Linked DNA regions of Homo sapiens: region 2 is linked to region 1. The links are contacts of gene promoters, found by promoter capture Hi-C in human tissues and cell types (Jung and others, 2019). All regions are on one chromosome and are shown on one strand. Each heading gives the region's core, a stretch centred on a gene start or on the middle of the fragment in contact. The rest is flanking DNA. Distances are from core to core; before and after follow the strand shown. Region 1 holds the start of APH1B (aph-1B gamma-secretase subunit). Region 2 overlaps CA12 (carbonic anhydrase 12).

Evidence for each region. The method cuts DNA at HindIII sites, captures the fragments that hold promoters and counts their contacts. A contact is called where the count stands out against the background at its distance.
Region 2: a contact is called between a fragment that was not itself captured here and the fragment with the promoter of APH1B in region 1, in 6 of the 25 tissues and cell types used here (IMR-90 fibroblasts, aorta, hippocampus and 3 more).

What each region holds. Positions count from the first base shown.
Region 1 is chr15:63,276,249-63,279,015 of GRCh38, forward strand. It overlaps APH1B (aph-1B gamma-secretase subunit), which reads left to right and starts at 1,357. Exons shown (of 6, transcript NM_031301.4): 1 at 1,357-1,488. The coding sequence starts at 1,376. It overlaps LOC124903504 (a long non-coding RNA gene), which reads left to right. Exons shown (of 2, transcript XR_007064674.1): 2 at 1-604. RefSeq lists silencers at 884-1,303, 1,384-1,663. The HindIII fragment of the contact is 12,664 bases long and covers 1-2,767 here.
Region 2 is chr15:63,349,614-63,352,380 of GRCh38, forward strand. All of the region lies in intron 2 of CA12 (carbonic anhydrase 12), which reads right to left. Among named protein-coding and RNA genes, the nearest start is that of CA12, 31 kb to the right of the region's middle. The HindIII fragment of the contact is 8,588 bases long and covers 1-2,767 here.

The DNA of each region.
Region 1 (2,767 bases), core at 107-2,606:
TTAAATGGGCAAAGGTAATGTTTTTCTGTAAGAATTAAATACCTGCAGTTGTATTATTTGAAGGTGCATTTTCAGGGGCGAGCTGCAAAACATCTGTCAGGTCCCAACATTTGTCTACTGGTGTTTTTTTAAATGTGGATTGCCAAAATCTTTATTCATGATGGACATTATGTAGGAGTGGTTAATACTTACATAGCACTTACCTGTGTCAGGCACACTGATCAAAATAACCGACGAAGTATTATTCAACATAAAGAAAAATCTAACTTGGATGTGAATGATCAGAGAACTTAAGTTTTAATTTTTAAACCTTTCAGAAATTGTTAATATAGATGTTTATAACTTCCACCTTTTAAATTATTTCACTTATTGAACAGATATTAGTGAACTTCTAGGTGCTGAGGAAACAACAAAGAGCAAAGCAAAGTCCCTGTCCCCCAGGAGTTCGCGTTTTAACGGGGAAGAAAAATAAGCAAGTGAAATGGACGACTGTGAGAAGACGGAGCAGGGAGATGTTACTATTGCTTGTAGGGTGGTCACAGAATGCCTGCAAAAACAACCCTTTTGAAGAATTGGGAAAAAAATAAAAACCATTTGGCTGAAACAGCCCTGAGAAGGGCAGCTTCTTCCACCACTCTTTCATCATTTTACCATCTGTGGGTTATCCCCGGGGTCACTGCTATCCCAGCCTAGGTTTTATACAGGATGGAGTACGAAGTTCCCGCAACTATCCAAACGGTAAAATGTGCTTAAAAAAAAAAAAAAACCTATTTAAAAAGGAATCCTGCTTGTTCCTGCGCTACATTTTTGTTTAGTCTCTTTGGTTGACTTGGAATCTCTGCCTGTTCTCGGTGCATGCGGCTCGAAGGTGGGCTAGGGAGCTTCCCTTCTCTTAACCACCTCGCGGCCGGCACTGGAACCCGATCGGAGTGTATCTGTGGGGCTGCGGCGATGGCTGGGGCCCTAACGTCGCCGAGGACGCCCGCCTCGGGAGCAGGAGCTGCGGCGTGGCCCTGGCGCTTCCGGACACCCGGTAGGGCGGAGGGCCCAACGGTGGGGTCCGCGCTCACCGCCTTGAGCCCGCCCCTGCGCCCGGCGCCCTCAGCCCACGCCCCGCCCAGTCCCCCAGGCCCTAGCGTTTACCCCCACGCCCCGCCTCGCCCCGCGACCCACGTACCCCGCCTCCGAGCCCCGCCCCCGCCCCCACGTGCCCCGCCCCCGAGCCCCGCCCCCGTCCCCGTGCCTGCCCATGAGCCGCGCCCCGCCCCCCGCGTCCCGCTTAGCCCCCCACCCCGAGCCCCACCCACCGAACCCCGCCCGCGCCGGGAGCATCTCGCGTCCCCAACGGGCCCCCGGGTCGGTTTCCGCGGTGGCCATGACTGCGGCCGTGTTCTTCGGCTGCGCCTTCATTGCCTTCGGGCCTGCGCTCGCCCTTTATGTCTTCACCATCGCCACCGAGCCGTTGCGTATCATCTTCCTCATCGCCGGGTGAGGCGGTCGCGTCGGGAAACCCGGACGCCGGGGCTCCCCTCCCCCGCTGGGGTTACCCGCGACCCTCGGCGCCCCCACCGCGCGGCTCGACCTTGTTGCGTTTCAGACGGGAGGAGGGTTGAGAGGGGGAGAGCGGAGATCCGGCTCCCCAAAGGCGCCTCGCCCTCTTAGGAAGAAGCGCACACTGGGGGTCAGGGCCTTTTGCCTGGGGCTCATGGGTGGGGTTTAGTGATCCGTGAAGCTACTAAAGTTGTATAAAAAAATTATGGATAAGTTCATATATGCATCCTTCATTTTCTGGAGGGGGAGTCCCTAATTTCCCTCAGATTCTCAAAGGCATGTGTAATCCCCAAAGGGTTAAAAACCATTGGCGTTTAGGATAGTAGTGCGCGACTTCCGCCTATTAGAATCACCTGTGGCCAGGTGCTTTAAAACATGCCGATGCCCACCCCCACCCCGATCCATTGAATCAGAATGTCTAGGGGATGGGATTCGGGCTTCAGAAAAAAAAAAAAAAATTTAAGCTCCTTTTGGATGGTTCCGTTGTGCAGCCGAAGGGTGGAAACCTGTAAAAACACCGAAGCACCTGACTGTGCGTCTCCTTCTGGGAGCTTGGTAAATACCGGACTCTGGTGTCCCATCGCAGTCATCACCTGCCTCTTACTTGCACATACCACATCCCCCCTCCTCTGATGAGTCTCTCTTGGCACCAGACTAGGCCAATGATTCCCGCTTTTCTGCGTTTCTTCACCTCCCACAAACGTATTGAAAGTGCTTCGCTGCATGTCATTTTAAAAATAATAGAGATTTGGGAAGGGTCTGTAAAGCTTGCTATAATCATTAGAATCCCCAGGGGTGCTGTAAGACCTGGAGGGCTTGGATACTGATCCAGATCAGAACACAGGTTTTCAAGTTGAATTTTATACCAGTCACTTTATTAATAGAGATGTAGATATTTTTCTGGAAAAGATACTCATCTTTGCAGATATCTGATCAGTAAATCCATAATTTCTTGTAAGTTTTAAGAATATGAAAATTGCAGTAATCAGGGTTGTGTATTTTCTTGTTTTGGCTCATCAATGGGCAGAGCATTGATTAGAAAGAGTAGCAAATAACCAAGTTTCTAGCTAGATAGTCCTTGGCAGATAGAGTCTGCAGATGTACTTGCAAGTAGCAGGGTCATTGAAAAAAGTAATTGTTGGGAAACCTCAGCCTTCCTCTTGGACACGTTTGTCTCACCAAGGAAAATGCACCGTTAAGAACAACTGATCAGAGT
Region 2 (2,767 bases), core at 196-2,695, 73 kb after region 1:
ACCATTTTATGGGTGAAAAATAGAGATTTAAGAGATTTGCCGGAAGTTTGACTTTGGCTAAGTAACAGTTACTTTGCTTGGGTCACAGGACTTATGTGTCCTTCAGTATTTATCCAGGAGATTTTGTGCACCTGGAATTTCCTGGCTTCCCCACGCTGTCCTTGAAGACAAGGACCACGGCTCATCCATCGCTGCACTTCCCACAGTGCCTGGCACAGAGTGGGCCCTCACATGTTTACTAAGCTGAACTCTCAACACCTGTTTCATGCTTGTTCCTTTCCCAGGGAACGTGCACCCACCTTAATTCCCTCATGTATTTCTTCTCCTCAAAAAAGAGGAGGAAAAATGAGATCACTTGCTCAGGTTCAAAATGTACCCTCCTAGCTTTCTAGCTTACCTGTGTGCAAATGGTTTCTGTTTGGGGGCACTAATTGAAAAAGAAATCTGATTTCTGCCCTGTAGCCTGGGAGACGGCCTGCCAAGGAAGTTCATAGGGCCCTCCCCCAGCATGTAATGGCTAGTGGGTGTCCCCGCCTTGCATAGCTGGGGACACTGTCAGAGCAGCCTCCTGTCTTTGTGGCATGTGAGAGATAGAGGTGCCATGAGGGTGGGCACCGGGACAACCAATATCAGAGGTGACAACAGCAGGCCTTTCTGTTCCCTGAGCTGTGACATGTGACTGCACAGTGCTGGCCTTATGCTGGCCGCTACACCCTGGGCTACCATTTTCCAACTCAGTGTCAGCTTTCACACTCATGCCAAGTGCTCCACTGCCAGAAATCCTCCACTGGGAGTGACTCTCCTAAAAGAAGCATTTATTTCCAGCTAAAACTTTGCCTTTGCTCTTCTGAGTTTTGACTTCGCCTCTCCAGTTGGTTGGACTCCTCCCATGATCGTGATACAGGAGGATCACGTGTCTTTCACAGTTTGTTTTTCTAAATAAAGCCAAGGCATTATTTCTTTCCTGTCTATGTGTTTTTCCTGCTCTAGGCAAAACAGAAGTGGTCAGAATTCCTGTTTCGAAAGGTAACAAGAGATTAACATGGCACAGCTCAAAATGCCTCTCGTGATTTCTGATTGGGAATTTTGAGGCCCAGGGTGTAGGACCTGCATTATCCAAGGACCAGAATGTTTTTACAGAAAATTTCAAATGTATACAATGTAGAGAGAGGAGTGGAATGAACCCCATGTCACCCAGCTTGGACAGTTTACAATTCAGAAACAGTCCTGCCTCATCTATGCTAAGCCCATTCTCCCCTTATCTACCTGGATAACTGGAAACAAATCCAGATATATTTCATCTGTATATATTTCATATGTTTCTCTAAAACATAAGGGCTCTTAAAACCACAGTACCATGACCACACCTAGAGAGTTAAGAATTAATACCTTAAGATTACCGAATCCAATTAGAATTCAAATTTTTCCAAATAGGTCATAAATTTTTAACAGTTTGTAAATTTCAGGGTTCACATACAGTCCATATATTTTTTGCAATATTGCAATTAGAGGATGTGTTATGGCCTAGATTACAGCTTGATGGTGGAATGCCTCATCAGAGAACACCTGGGCCCCGCTCCTCCAAGGCTCAACATCTCAGAGCCAGCTTGGTCTATCCTTTGCCCTTAGTGGGTCATGGACTCCCATGCTTCCATGGGTTAGGCCCTCGCCATGTCACACTGCAAAGGCTTCCCACAGGCAACCAGCCCCAGCCTTCCTTGTTACACTGCCAGGCTGGCTCTCCTGCAGTAACCAGATCAATCTTGTCATAGCCTGGCTTGGGTGGCACCACCCCACCACCCATCCGTACACTCCCTTTCTCCCTAGCATGCCCTGCCCCACCCCAACAAGACAAAGCACAGCCTAGCTGTTTTTCATGGCCTTGAAGTGCCCCAACCTGTCAAAGTCTTCAAAGGCCCCCACATCCCGCCCCAGCCTGCCCCATGCTTCAGCCAGCTCCCTGAGCCTAAGAACAGGCTATGCCAACCCACCTTCACAAATGCCGTTATGAAAAAATCTGCTCAAATGCCCTCTTCTTTCCTCTGCACCTTTCCAAATTTCGTCCACTCTTCAAAGTCCAGCTCAGGTCCTGCCAAAGCTACCCCAGTGCTTTCTAGTCCCTGACTTGAACTTCTCGGCCAGCCTACTCGGGTTGTGCACACTAGCAAGCAGTGATGATTGTTAGCCTGCCTCACCTGTGACTGTTAGAGCCAGACTAGTACAGAAACTTATTACAGACTAGAGCTCAGAATATGAGTTTCAAAGACCTTTGGAAGACCAGAACTTTATGTCATATCCCTACTTATGTCTGAACACATCCTTGAATGGATGTGGAGGGTTTTTTTAAGCTCATTTCAGAAATTTAGCCATAAAGGGATGAGAGAAGGGTGTATGCGTGGTGGTTATGGTAAGGTGAGGGTAATGTGAAAGATTTTGTTTTTTGTTTCTGTTTTTGTTTTTGAGACTGAGTCTTGCTCTGTCACCAAGGCTGGAGTGCAGTGGTGCAATCTCAGCTCACTGCAACCTCCGCCTCCCAGGTTCAAGCAATTCTTCTGCCTCAGCCTCCCAAGTAGCTGGGATTACAGGTGCGTGCCTCCACGCCCAGCTAATTTTTTATATTTTTAGTCGACATGGGGTTTCGCCATGTTGGCCAGGCTGGTCTCAGACTCCTGACCTAAAGCGATCCACCTGCCTTGGCCTCCCAAAGTGCTGGGAATACAGGCGCGAGCCACCGCACCCAGCCTGTGTTTTTGTTTTTTATGAAGAG